Linked DNA regions of Homo sapiens: region 1 is linked to region 2. Evidence: promoter capture Hi-C in 16 types of primary human blood cells and fetal thymus (Javierre and others, 2016). All regions are on one chromosome and are shown on one strand. Each heading gives the region's core, a stretch centred on a gene start or on the middle of the fragment in contact. The rest is flanking DNA. Distances are from core to core; before and after follow the strand shown.

What was found. The method cuts DNA at HindIII sites, captures the fragments that hold promoters and counts their contacts. A CHiCAGO score of 5 or more calls a contact.
Region 1: a contact is called between a fragment that was not itself captured here and the fragment with the promoter of ACADS in region 2, in 2 of 17 cell types (M0 macrophages and endothelial precursors). The highest score is 6.5, in M0 macrophages.

What each region holds. Positions count from the first base shown.
Region 1 is chr12:120,594,718-120,601,274 of GRCh38, forward strand. No RefSeq gene overlaps it. Among named protein-coding and RNA genes, the nearest start is that of POP5, 17 kb to the left of the region's middle. RefSeq lists an enhancer at 2,338-2,838. The HindIII fragment of the contact is 9,227 bases long and covers 1-6,474 here.
Region 2 is chr12:120,721,168-120,728,578 of GRCh38, forward strand. ACADS (acyl-CoA dehydrogenase short chain) reads left to right here and starts at 4,659. Exons shown (of 10, transcript NM_000017.4): 1 at 4,659-4,764; 2 at 5,859-6,022. The coding sequence starts at 4,719. It overlaps UNC119B (unc-119 lipid binding chaperone B), which reads left to right. Exons shown (of 5, transcript NM_001080533.3): 5 at 1-2,473. MIR4700 (microRNA 4700) reads left to right here and starts at 2,026; the gene lies at 2,026-2,099. RefSeq lists an enhancer at 4,331-4,832 and a silencer at 4,469-4,978. The HindIII fragment of the contact is 22,347 bases long and covers 3,977-7,411 here.

The sequences.
Region 1 (6,557 bases), core at 611-3,110, 130 kb before region 2:
GCTTACTTGGCTCATTTTTTTTTTGTTGTTGTTGAGACAGAGTCTTGTCCTTGTTGTCCAGGCTGGAGTGCAGTGGCACGATCTCAGCTCATTGCATCCTCTGCCTCCCAGGTTCAAGCGATTCTCCTGCCTCAGTCTCCTGAGTAGCTTGGATTACAGGCACCCACCACTACGCCTGGCTAATTTTTGTATTTTTAGTAGAGACAGGGTTTCGCCATGTTGGCCAGGCTGGTCTCAAACGCCTGACCTCGTGATCTGCCCACCTCGGCCTCCCAAAGTGCTGGGGTTACAGGCGTGAGCCACCGCATCTGGCTCACTTGGCCCATTTTTTAGAAGGGTTGTTTGTCTTTTTGTTGTTGAGTTCTTTATATATTCTGGATACTAAATTCTTATCAGATATACGATGTGCAAATATTGCCTCCCATTCTGCAGGTTGCCTGTTTACTTTCTTGATAATGTTCTTTGATGCAGAAAAGTTTTTACTTTTCATGAAATCCAGTTTGTCTCTTTTTTCTTTTGTTTCTTGTGATTTCAGTGTCAAATTGAAGAATCTGTTGCTAAATCCTAGATCATGAAGATTTATCCCTGTGGTTTATTTTATTTTATTTATTTTATTTTTTCTGAGATGGAGTTCACTCTTATTGCCCAAGCTGAAGTGCAATAACACGATCTCGGCTCACGGCAACCTCCACTTCCCAGGTTCAAGTGATTCTCCTGCCTCAGCCTCCCGAGTAGCTGGGACTACAGGCGTGAGCCACCACACCTGGCCTTATGGTTTCTTTTAATTGTTCTATGGTATTAGCTCCTACCTTTATGTCATTGATCTATTTTTTGTTGTTGTGTGTTTGTTTTTGAGACAGGGTCTCACTCTGTCGCCCAGGCTGGAGTGCAGTGGTACAATCTTGACTCACTGCAGTCTCCACCTCCCGGTACAAGTGACTCTTGTGCCTCAGTCCCCCAAGTAGCTGGGACCACAGGTGTGTGCCACCATGCCTGGGCAGTTTTTGTACTTTTACTAGAGACGGGGTTTCACCATGTTGGCCAGGCTGGTCTCAAATTCCTAACCTCAGGTGATCTGCCCGTCTTGGCCTCCCAAAGTGCTGGGATTACAGGCGTGAACCACTGTGCCCAGCCTCAATCTCTACCTCTTGATGGGAGGTCAGCATGCCCTTATAGGGTGGCGGGGGAATGGTTGGGGGCCGTCTTTGGAGAGAGTCTACTACAGGAAGTTTTAGTAATCAGTTGGCTGTAAGAGGTTGGAGAGAAGAAGAACAGAAAAAGGCAGGCAGGGTATCATCCACATTTCTGGGTTGAGCCATTGGGCAGTTAGAGAAGCCTGGGGAGAAGCAAGAATGAGGTGAAGGAAATCAGTCACGGACATATTGAGTTTGAGCTCCTGTAGGCATCCAGGCCCCAGGAGCCCTGGGAATCAAATAAATGATAAACAAAACATGGAAGGGTACTTACAAGGGCTTATTTAACAAATATATTCAATAAATATTTATGGAACACTTTATGCTAATACTACCTAACATTTATGTGATGCTAGCCATGGGTCAGGTACTTTGCATTTAAAAAAAAATTGAGTTATGGCCGGGTGCAGTGGCTCACACCTGTAATCCCAGCATTTGGGGAGGCCGAGGCGGGCGGATCACGAGGTCAGGAGATCGAGACCATCTTGGCTAACACAGTGAAACCCCGTCTCTACTAAAAATACAAAAAATTAGCTGGGTGCGGTGGCGGGTGCCTGTAGTCCCAGCTACTCCGGAGGCTGAGGCAGAAGAATGGTGTGAACCCGGGAGGCGGAGCTTGCAGTGAGCCGAGATAGTGCCACTGCAGTCTGGCCTGGGCGAAAGAGCAAGACTCTGTTCTCAAAAAAAAAAAAAAATTGAGTTGTAACATACATACAGTAAAATGCATAAATCTACCGTGGTGGTGGTGTTATTTTTGAGATGGAATCTCAAGAATGAGATTCCAACAGAGTTGCCCAGGCTGGAGGGCAGTGGCATGATCTCGGCTCACCGCAATCTCTGCCTCCCAGGCTCAAGCGATTCTCCTGCCTCAGCCTCCCGAGTAGCTGGGATTACAGGCACCTGCCACCACGCCTGGCTAATTTTTGTATTTTTAGTAGAGATGGGGTTTTGCCATGTTGCCCAGGCTGGTCTCGAACTCCTGTGCTCAAGTCATCCACCCGCCTCAGCCTCCCAAAGTGCTGGGATTATAGGCATGAGCCACCCTACAATGTACATTTCATTGAATTTTATATATCACCTTGCAGGTAAAGATATAGAACATTTCCAGCCCCAGAAAGCCCCCTCTCAGCCATGTTATATTTAATTTTCACATTGACCCTATGAGGTAGGTAGTGTGATTATTCCCATTTTTCAGATGATGAAACTGAGACTTAGGTGAAGCGACTTTCCCAAAACCACATGGGGATAGAGTCTGGACTCTAATTTAGGTCTATATGACTAGGAACGTGGATCCCTTTCCAGCCCACCAAGATTTCTCCCTAAGGCCAGACTCTTGACTCTCAGACCCTCTGAGACCAAGCTGGGGAACACCCCATTCCCTCACTGAGCTGGGACTGGACTCAGACCTCTGGGGGGCACCCTGAGGGCAGGAGCTAGGTGGTCCAGCCTCCACTGGAGAATGGGAGCCCCTCATTTGTGGCTCTGTGGGAGGTACAGGGCCAGGGAGGATGTGGATTTAGGGTGAAGAGGGAAGAATGAGACGGGCCCTTCCATGTCCCCATCAGTCAGGGAGGGGGCCACCTGTGGGTGGTGCTGGCCGAGGCTACACGGCAGGTTGCAGCTGCACTCATTTCCCAGCAATGGGCCCCGGGGAAGATCAGCTTTGACCACGCCTCATCGACTTGATAGGGGAGAGGAGGGGAGCCACACCTGTCAGAACGACTTCAGGCCCTGCTTCCCAAGCATCCCTCAGACCTGCCGGGAGGCTCCTGGGAACGTCTCCTGGGCCTCCTTCAGGAGGACAGAGGAGGCTCCCCCCCAACCCCACGTGTCTGCCCCGCGCAACGCTCTGACCTCTTCTATCCTCTCCTCAAGTTAAAACTGACCTCCTCGCTCTTCTCCCAACCTGTGAAGCCCCTACTTGCCTCAGGGCCTTTGCACTCAATGTTCCCTCCATCTGGAACCTTCTGCTTCCTGGATTTTGCATGGCAGCCTCAGCCTTCTCATGCGTCCTGGCTCAAATGTCACCTCTTTAGAGGGCTATTCCCTGGACAAGTTGCCCTATTTAGTGCTCTCCTCACCAGCCAGCACAGTGGTGCCAGATGGCCTGGATTTGAATCACAGCTCCACCTGCTCCAATGCTGTGTGGCACTGGGCAGGTTACTTAACTTCTCTGTTAAGCCACAATTTCCTCAGCTGTAAGGTGGGAGTGGTGATTACAGCCTCATCGTGTGGTAGCAAGGATCAAATTATTTAACATCTGTTGGCAATGCCTGACCCATAGCAGATGCTTTACACGTATTAGCTTTTATTCATGTAAATGCTTATCCCATGCTGAAATGATTCTGGGTATTGATTTGTTTACTTCGTTTTTCCATCTCCCCCAATTAAAATGAGCCCCATGAGGCTGAGTGGGGTGGCTCACGCTTGTAATCCCAGTACTTTGGGAGGCCAAGGTGGTTGGATCACTTGAGGTCAGAAGTTTGAGACCAGCCTGGTCAACACGGTGAAACGCTGTCTCTACTAAAAATACAAAAAATTATCCGGGCATGGTGGCAGACACCTGAATCCAGCTACTCAGGAGGCTGATGCAGGAGAATCACTTGAACCCAGGAGGTGGAGGCTGCAGTGAGCCGAGATCGCACCATTGCATTCCAGCCTGGGCGACAGCGAGATCCCATCTCAAAAAAAAAAAAAAAAAGAAAAAGAAAGAAAAAAGAATGAGCCTCGTGAAGATGGTGGTTTTTTCTGTTTTGTTCACCGCTGTATCCCCAGTACTCCAACACTGCCTGGCACACAGTGATAAATGCTGGTTGAATAATCAAATGAGTAAACCAGGTTACTAAATGTTGATTAACTAATTGAATAAATGAATAAACCGGGTGACTGGATTCTTCTACTTGTAGCTCCCCAAACGTGCCATGCTCACTCTCATTTCCCGACCTTTGCTTTTGCTGTTCCCTCTGCCTGGAACTATTCACCAGGAGAAGGGAGGGAAGTGACAAAGGGGAGATCACCTGGCAGTGGCCCAGGTTCCTCTCTTGTCCTCGTTTCACTGCTGCCTGCACCGGATACTCACCAGAGAACCAGGGAGCAAGAATCTAGACTCTCCAGGACTCGAGTCACCTGTTACCACCACTTGTTCTGCAACTGGGGAAACTGAGGCCCAGAGAGAGGAAAGAACTCAGCCAAGTTTCCATGCTCAAGGGCAGTGCTCGTCCCTCTCCACTGTACATGTCTCACCCGGAGACTGTTTCCCACGTGCATGCTGTATCTGCTCCCAGCATGGGGCCCAGAGAGAGGCGGTGGGTGAGGGGCTGCGCCCTGCCTGTGGGCCACTGCCCTCCTCCCTGCCCACTGAGGAGCGAGCAGGGTGGCCCGGGCTAGTGAATTCACATGCTCCTGACTTAGACTCACATGAGTCACCATCCTGACACTTTCACTTATTAGCCATGTGACCTTGGGCTCTCTGAGCCTTGGTTCACTACCCTGCAGAAAGAGGAGACAAAACCTAACCCTCTTCCTCCAGCATTGCTGGAAAGATTTGTTTTGTTTTGTTTTGTTTTGTTTCTTGAGACAGTCTCTGTCACCCAGGCTGGAGTCACAGTGAATCTCAGCTCACTGCAACCTCCGTCTCCCGGGTACAAGCAATTCTTATGTCTCAGCCTCCCAAGTAGCTGGGACTACCGGCACCTGAGACCACACCTGGCTGATTTTTGTATTTTTAGTAGAGATGGGGTTTTGCCATGTTGGCCAGGCTGGTCTCCAACTCCTGATCTCAGGTGATCCACTCACCTCGGCCTCCCAAAGTGCCGGGATTACAGGTATGAGCCACCGGCAATCCCAGGAAATGAGCCCCTGGAAATATTTCTATTATAATAAAAGTTCACATGTATCGAGCACTTATCCTCAACTACCCTGCGGGGCAGGTATGAATTTTATCCCCATTTTCCAGATAAGGAAACTGAGGCTCAGAATGGGGAAATAACTCTTCGGAGGTCACACAGCTAGCAGGAAGTAGAGCAGGAATTCCAATCCAGGCAGGCCGACTTCAGAGCTCACATGCTTAGCCATATGAATGCATCAGGCATACAATAGTAGGCGCTCAATGGATATTAGCTACTGGTGGCCCTCTGACCAAGGCCCTAGGAAGAACTTGCTTTCATGTTGGCACCGTTTTCCAGGACAAACTCCATCTTTTGTTTATTTTCTTCCCCTCTAATCCCTGCTTGGAAACACAAGGCCTCTTAGCAGTCCCTCTCTGAGGGATTTTCGGATTATTCCCACCTTGATTAGTTCCAGTTTCTCCTGCAGAAGCAGGAGTTATTTTGGGGCCTTGATGGCTCCCTCTGGCTGCCTGTGACCTCCACCCCGTTGCAGACACCTCTCCCTTCACCTGCACGGCTCATTAGCCGCATTCTGCTGCTCGGCTGCTGCTTTCCGTGCCCGCAGTTCCCCGCCCTACCTCGAGGGCCAGCACCTGCTCCCCTCCTCCCGGACCCCACAGCCACTCCTGCCACCCCACTATTTTGCAGGGATAGAGGCTGTTAACTGTTTCTTTTTTTAATTACCATTTTAATTTTTTATTTTTTGAGACGGAGTCTCGCTCTGTTGCTCAGGCTGGAGTGCAGTGGCGCGATCTCTGCTCACTGCAACTGCCACCCCCCAGGTTCAAGCGATTCTCCTGCCTCAGCCTCCCGAGTAGCTGGGACTATAGGCATGTGCCACCATGCACCGCTAATGTTAATTTTGTCACCTGTGTCCTAATCCTCAGACCCCAACTTTGCCTCAGAGCAATGACCCTCCCTCCAGTTCCAGGATTTTCCCAGACTTGAGCAAAAGCTCACACACCATTTGGATGCAAATGGGTTTGGCTGGTGTTCCCACTCCCTGTTCCTGTGGGAACCCAGTCCTCAATGTCATTCAGCCTGGGGCGGGAGCAGTAAAAACTCCCAAGGATGCATTTTATGTGATGTATATTTTACCACAATTAAAATAAAATTCCCAAGGGGTCACAGGACGCCTCCCCGCCTCTGCCACCATGTTATGTCGCCGTGCGTGGGGCCCACGTCACAGGCGTGGGGCGTGGGTTCTGTGGTAGCTGTCTGTTCTCTCTCTGCTCCTGGCTCTTCTTTCCAGCTCTGCGTTCTGCCTCTGCCAGGGCCGCCTGCAGGCCTTGCTTGCTTTTCAAAAATAACTCTTGAGTCTCTCACTGAGCTTGGGGGCTGCTTCCTGGGTGTCCCGGGCTGTGTGTTAATCCTTCCAATGCAAAACTTCCTGAAGCTTAAGACTCTGGGCTGGGCGAGGGAACTGGTCACCAGTGTCGGGCTGAAGTAGCTCAGATACTGACCTGCTGTTCCAGCA
Region 2 (7,411 bases), core at 3,409-5,908:
AGAGTTACGTAATGCAGTCTGAGCCTTCAGACTGCTAGTTAGAATTGTTTTAGGTGTTCAGAAAGGGCAAAATAGGCTGATGTGGCCTGTCAGAGTGATGTGTTCTCAAAAAAGTTCACTTGCACATCTGTGGGCTGCTTTTGTCCTCAGACCCTTAGTGGACAGACTCCACAAACCCTCTGATGAGACGATTGATGTGGCCAGGGTCCAGTTAGCATCAGTAGAAGGATGTCACTAGGAAAGGCCCAGGTATCTGGTAAGTGACTGTGAGGTGTCACAGTACCTGTGACAGGAGAGTGTCCTGATGTGCTTGGGAGAAAGGCCGTATGGGGGCCAGGGATGGAAGAGACAGTGTGTGGCCACAGAAATTCCTGTCCATCCACCACCAGTGCTGCTCCCTGTGTGGGCTTTAGGGCGAGTGGCCCCGAACCTTGGCCCAGTGCTTTGTCCCAGGCCAGAGTCTTGGCAATGCCACATGCTGGCAGCTTTCTCACTGAGAAGGTCCTAGCTTACCCCTGTGTGCTGGCCTTGGATTCAGCCCCGAGAGAGGGGAGAGACCATTCCTCCTGTGGAGTGGGTTCCTTATCACCAGACCGGCCACTCTCAGAACTGGCGTCCACTGTAAATCCAGGTGCCTTACGTGTGGCTCTGTCCCTTATGCTGCAGGGGAAAGCTGCATTGCCATTGTTCCCACCTCCTCACTGGCAGAAAGATGCCAGGGCTGTTAGCACTGTCTCCTCACCTTCTGTTTCTCATTGTGGCTCCTCAAATGGGATTTGCATGTTCCTGTCAAGCGTAACAACAATCCCTTCTCTCTTTGACAGAGGCCCAGGTGGGACAGTTTCTACTATTTGATATTTGAGTATTATCTGGGATGTGGTTCTGGAGCTGCCCAGAGCTGTGCTTAGTAGAGTGTGTCTTGGAAACATGCCCCTGGGCACACTGTATCTGCTACATTAGTGGGCTATCTCTTATCTGCAGTGTTCGCTTTTGCTAGAAAGAGGATGTGGAGGAAGGAGGAGGTGGGCAATCTGGCTTGAGTTGTGCTGTATCCTCTTCCTTGTTAGCTTGCCTTAGTCTCACTGGAGACCATTTGCGGATAGTGCTTGGTCCATGCCCAGCAGGACAGGGCTTTGCTGCTTCTGAAAGTCTGGTGTTCTGTATCTGGGGCTGTGGGTTCCTGTGTCTAGCTGCTCAGGAAATCTTGAGAAGCATTCCACTCTGGGGTGTAAACCAGTATGAGTTTGAAATTCAAGCGTTTGTACCTGAGTTGGGGAGAGAATTGCAAGGCATACTTTCTCTGAAAGTAACAGAACCATTCAGGCTGCCATGTTATTAAGGAATCTGAACTGTTGATAGCAGTTACCTTGTGGGTGATACAATGGGAGGCGGCAAAAAAACTACCTGCATAGGAGACCCTGCCCTTTGTCAAGAGCTGGGAGCACATTTCATCAGAGTAGCAGGCCCACCTGGTGCCAGAGGGCCTGCCCCTCCTGCTTCTGTTCCTTTGCCTTGCAGTCTCCTGGAGAGAGCCTCTCTTTTCCTGTACAGCCTTTGGGCCAAAATGCCCTTCTAGCTTCTCCAAAGAAGATCCGAGTTTATTTCATTCTATGTTTTAAGAGGTAAAAGGACATAACAAGTGAAAGAAGTTTTGGGCTAAAGTAGGCTATGTCTCCTTATGTATTACTCAATACTGTTTTGCAGAGAAAACATTTTTCAAGCATGTGCTTCCTGAAGACACCTCAGTCTTTGGGCCATTTGATTTCCAATACATAGGGTGGAAGAATGTGATTTTGGGGCTGACCATAAACTGGAAATTTGTGAAATGGCAGTGATTGGGCAATCTTCAGTTTATTTTTTCAGTTGAAGTGGAACTCATTTCTGGAATGGATTTAATAGGCTGTGTCTAATGTACAAACTGGGTGAGTCCTGCCTTAGTGTGTCCTGCCCCACCGGTACGCTTCCAGGATACTCTTTTCCCCTCTGTAAAGTCACTTTCTTCTGATGGCCAGTGTCACTATGATGTCAGTGAGGTCTGGGGATGAGGACAGTGTGTCCTGAAATTCACAGGACTGACTCCTCACCCCAGTGCACGAGGATTCCTGTGGCATCAGGTGCTGCTGTACCTGGTGTAGGAGCCTAATCATTGAACCATTGTGTTACTCACATTCCATGTCACAGAACATATCAGCCTCAAGAAGGATTTGGTGGAGGTGGATTTACCACTGGTTTTACAAAGGACCGTGTAAAGTCATTGAAGTTGTGAAAGTCTATTTTTTTTCCTGTAAATCTATTTTTTACAGAATATAAGAAACATCAATGACCTGATCTGTCCTTCCTCCTCCTTCCCGCTTCCCCCAAAATCACATTCCAGTTTTTATTGTCTTTGTGTCCAAAGTAAACTAGGTGACTTATTTGTATAAAATGTTATTTTGCCACATGAGACAGTAATAAAAGAAAGATTTTCACAGTACGTCTCCCTCGTCCTGTCTCCTGATTGTTGGGCCCGTTGTGTTGCTGAGGGGAGCAGGGGCGAATGGGGGCTCCAGGTTTCTCTTACTTTGGCTATTATGTGGCCCTTCTGTAAGTAGTTGAACTAGAGTATAGCTGGCTTCTAGGGTGATTGAGGAATTGTACTGGACTTTAGGCTTAATATTTTTGCTTTATATTTTCCCAGGGTGAGTGGCTTTGTAAATTGAAAGTTTACATGCATGTTTTAAAGGTAGGGTTTTTTTTTTTGAGATGGAGTTTCGCTCTTTTTTCCCAGGCTGGGATGTGATGGCATGATGGTGGCTCACTGCACCCTTCGCCTCCCGGGTTCAAGTGATTGTCCTGCCTCAGCCTCCCAAGTAGCTGGGATTACAAGTGCATGCCACCACGCCCGGCTAATTCTGTATTTTTGGTAGAGACAGGGTTTCCCCATGTTGGCCAGGCTGGTCTTGAACTCCTGACCTCAGGTGATCAACCCGCCTTGGCCTCCCAAAGTTCTGGGATTACAGGTGTGAGCCACTGTGGCTGGCCATAAAGGTAGGCTTATTAAGAAATACTTTAACTACAGTAAAATTTACCTCAATTAAGAGTATTGATGCATTTTGACAAATGAATACTTTTATTACCCATCACAATCATGATATAGGACATTTCCATCGTACCCACTCAGAAAGTTCCTGAGTTCCTTGTGTTTGCAGCCAGGTGACTTCCCCCACTTCGCCTCTTGCAACCACTATCTGATTCTGTCTCTATTGGAAAACTTGGATACTTTTAAAATGAAATTTGAACGTTCATATTTACAGTCACAAATTCTCAAGAGTCTGGTTTAGATGCTCTGTGGCACCTGAAGCAATTATTGGCCTTTGCTCACAAACACAACTCACTTATTTCTCCCTTTTCTCCTGCTTCTTCATCGTTTCTTCCACCCAGGGCTGGTTCCCAGGTGGGATGACGGAAAGGTGAGGAAGCCCTTAGAGCATTTGCCAATGGGAGCCATTCATTTGACTTTAAAGTACTGAGAATTTAGAGGCGTTCTTTTAAATGCATTATTTAAAAAGAAAGGTAACACATTAAGGACTTTGCTGCATCTTTTGATTGGCTTTCTTCTAGGAAGTAGTGACCGAGGTTTCCACTTTCCTCCAAGAGGAAGAGACAGAAGTTTTGGCAAATAGGTCAATGCTGGGAACAGATGCCTGCCTGGCTGAGTGCTGGGAAAGAAAGGCAGTTGGAGGGATGTGTGGGTGCCTGGGAGGGCGTGGGTGGTGCCCAGGAGGCTATGGGAATCAGAATCACACTTGCACAAGAGAAGACCCTTATGGGACAAGTAAAATCAGCATAGTTTCTTGGGCGGGGCAAAGGTGTCCTGATGAGGATGCTAGGGGTCAAATATGTGTCTGGGTTCTGCCCCAATCGGGAATGAGACACAGTACTGAAGTGGAACGGGGGTAGCATCTCCACCCACCTTCACAGCCTCTGGGGAAAAGAAAGCTTTCCTTGCAGCCCAACTCCAGGGGCCTAAATATTGAGCACCAACACAAGACAGGTCCTTGAGCTTCTCGGAGCGAGTCGGGGAAGCAGATAATTTCAGATGCAAAGTGCCTTGAATAAACAGAACGAAAGATAGAGAGCCAGAGGGGGAGAAACGGCTTGGTGTGGTCAGGGCAGGCATCCATGAGACCTAAACGAAGAGGGGGCATTCCAGACAAAAGGAACAGTGATCACAGAGGCCCCGAGTCAGGAACCAGCTAAGGGTCTTAGAGAAGAGCTGCCTCGTAAAGCTAAGCAACAATAACCAGGGAACGGTGGGCATGGGCCCTGATAGACAAGGCAGGTCTTGGCTTTTTAAGCCATAGAATTGGATTTTAGGAGGGATGGGCCCGCCGACAAAGCCAACAAAGTTTTAACCCGAAGATCGCTATCTTATTTATGCTTTAAAAAGACCTCTCTGGCCTTTCTGCGAAGCTCTATCCTTAGCTTTCTCTTGTTAGCATTTTGATTAACGAATGTGGGCACGAACAGCCAGCTGACCGACCGCGCGCGCAGTCGAGCGTCGGTTCCTCGCCTTGGGAGGGACCACTGGAGGCCCCGCCCCCTGGCCGCGAGCGCACCTCGGCCCCGCTCCCGAGGCCCTACGGGCGTGGCCTCTGTCCCGGGTCCCGCCCCCCAGCACTCCGGAACAGCGCGCTCGCAGCGGGAGGTCGCGAAGCCTGGGACTGTGTCTGTCGCCCATGGCCGCCGCGCTGCTCGCCCGGGCCTCGGGCCCTGCCCGCAGAGGTGAGTGCGCTGGGGATCCGTACGGCGGGGCTTCAGCCCGCGTCTGGCCCAGCGGGCGGAGGTCCTGGCGGCCGGCTCTGTCAGAGCCGCTGGCAGGCGGAGCCCCACTCCGGGAGCGCTCACGGCCTTTGCCCCAGTTCTGCTGCTCCTTGCGCCGACCCAGCCCGGCCCTTCAGGCGTCCCTGGTTCCTGCACAGACCCCTACCCCCCGATTGACCCCAGCCACCAGCCCAGTTCCCAGTTCCCATATCTCCCTCCCTTCATTTCACCCCCACTAGAGGTTCAGGGTGCGTCCTTCTTCCGGAGCCAGGCCTGGGATTGAACCAGACCCGCATCTGTGACCTTGGGCAAGACAGCCCCTCCTCAGCCTCGGTTGGCCCATGTGTAAAATGTCCACAGAGAAAATCAGAGTTGTTGGGAGGATTAAATCATAGGGTATGTAAAGCACTTCGTGCCTGGCGTGTAACAGGTGTTCCACAAATGCTCGTTCTTGCTGGTTAATACAGTACCTTTCCCATCTTACGTGTCTCCAGTTGTAGCAGCCGTGACACATATAGCCACGGCTTCCTTTGCCTGGCCTGAATTACAAGGGGAACGCTACTGAGAACTGTGTTAAGCGCTAGTTAGTCTTTCTTTCGCACTCCGAGGAGCGGAATACTATTCGCCTCCACTTGTTATAGAAACGGAGGCTCACTGACGTTTAAAACCCTTGCCTAAGGTCACAGAGCTGAGGTCTTATTACTGTTGGTATTATACTGAGGACTGAAGGATGTAGTGTATGGAAATGTCTAGTGAGTGTACTAAGCATTCAGTTAGTATGGGGTTTTCAGTGGCCGCCATGGACATTTTGGGCTGACAGTTCTTTGTTGTGGGGGCTGTCCTCTGCCTTGTTGGATGTTCAGCAGGGATCCCGGACCCCTATCCACTGGGTACCAATAGTATTCCCCTGCTCTAGTTGTGACAACTAGAACTGGCTCCAGACATTGCCAGATGTCCCTTGGAGGGCAAAATCCTCCCTGGTGAGTTAGTGGGTCACTAGGATTCTTGGAGACCTCCTGCCTCCTCCTTCCACTCACTTCTGCCCTTGCCGGCAGCTCTCTGTCCTAGGGCCTGGCGGCAGTTACACACCATCTACCAGTCTGTGGAACTGCCCGAGACACACCAGATGTTGCTCCAGACATGCCGGGACTTTGCCGAGAAGGAGTTGTTTCCCATTGCAGCCCAGGTGGATAAGGAACATCTCTTCCCAGCGGCTCAGGTGAGAGTGCAACCTCAGCAGCCCACGATAGTGGTCTGCCCTCTGCTACTGGATGAATGGTGGCAGTGACAGTCAGCGGCACTCGGACTCTGGTAGAGGAACCCCAAAGCAGGGCCTGGAACCCAGAAAATGCTCTGGAAGTTTCCCTTGTCCAGCCTGTGGCCAGTAGCCAGGACTTAACTTCTGGGACAACAGTAATATGTGGTGGATGGTCAGTTGCTTACTGTGCCAGCCACTGTGCTCATTCTAAATAGTGCCTTTAGGGTGTTTGGCATGCACTAGGCACTGTTCTTGAGATGGGTTATCTCATCTGTTCCTCACAACGGTCCTGTGAGGTGAAGGTACTATTCTTATTTATTTTTTTGAGACGGAGTTTCACTCTTGTGGCTCAGGCTGGAGTGCAATGGTGCGACCTCGCCTCACTGCAGCCTCTGCCTCCTGAGTTCAAGTGATTCTCCTGCCTCAGCCTCCCAAGTAGCTGGGATTATAGGCGTGCACTGCTCTGCCCCGCTACTTTTGTATTTTTAGTAAAGACGGCGTTTCACCATGTTGGCCAGGCTGGTCTCAAACTCCTGAATTCAGGTGATCTGCCCACCTCGGCCTCCCAAAGTGCTGGGATTACAGGTGTGAGACACCACGCCCGGCCAAAGGTAGTATTATTATATACCCCATGGACTCAGACTTGTGAACAAGTTAAATAACATACCCAAGGTCATGGAGCTCATCAGCGGCAGCCTGCTCGACCTATTTTCTTTTTTATTTACTTATTTTTTTTTGAAATGGACTCTCGCTCTGTTGCCCAGGCTGGAGGGCAGTGGCGCAATCTCAACGCACTGCACCCCTCTGCCTCCTGGGTTCAAGCAATTCTCCTGCCTCGGCCCCCAGTAGCTGGGATTACAGGCGGGCACCACCACGCCCAGCTAGTTTTTGTACTTTCAGTAGAGATGGGGTTTCTCCATGTTGGGCAGGCTGGTCTCAAACTCCTGACCTTAGGCGATCTGCCCGCCTTGGCGTCCCAAAGTGCTGGGATTACAGGCGTGAGCCACCGTGCCCGGCCTGCTTGAACTGTTTTCTCCCCTGAGTTTCCCATCAGCGCGCTCCCTCCCGTGCCACTGTGTTCTTCCATTTGCATTCAGTCTGTCTGCAGCTACGCGTTGAAGATGTTACTGCCGTACACGCTGACCTAAAGATGTCCAGCACCTGGTGTAAACACTCAGTAGTAGATAGTTGTTTAATTAATGATTTGTGAAAAGTCAAACCTCTCCGGCCTCTTCTCCTTGCCTGTTTTTTTTTTTAATTTTAATTTTAATTTATTTTTTATTTTTAAAAATTTTTTGAGACAGTCTTGCTCTGTCACCAGGTTGGAGTGCAGTGGCGCGATCTCGGCTC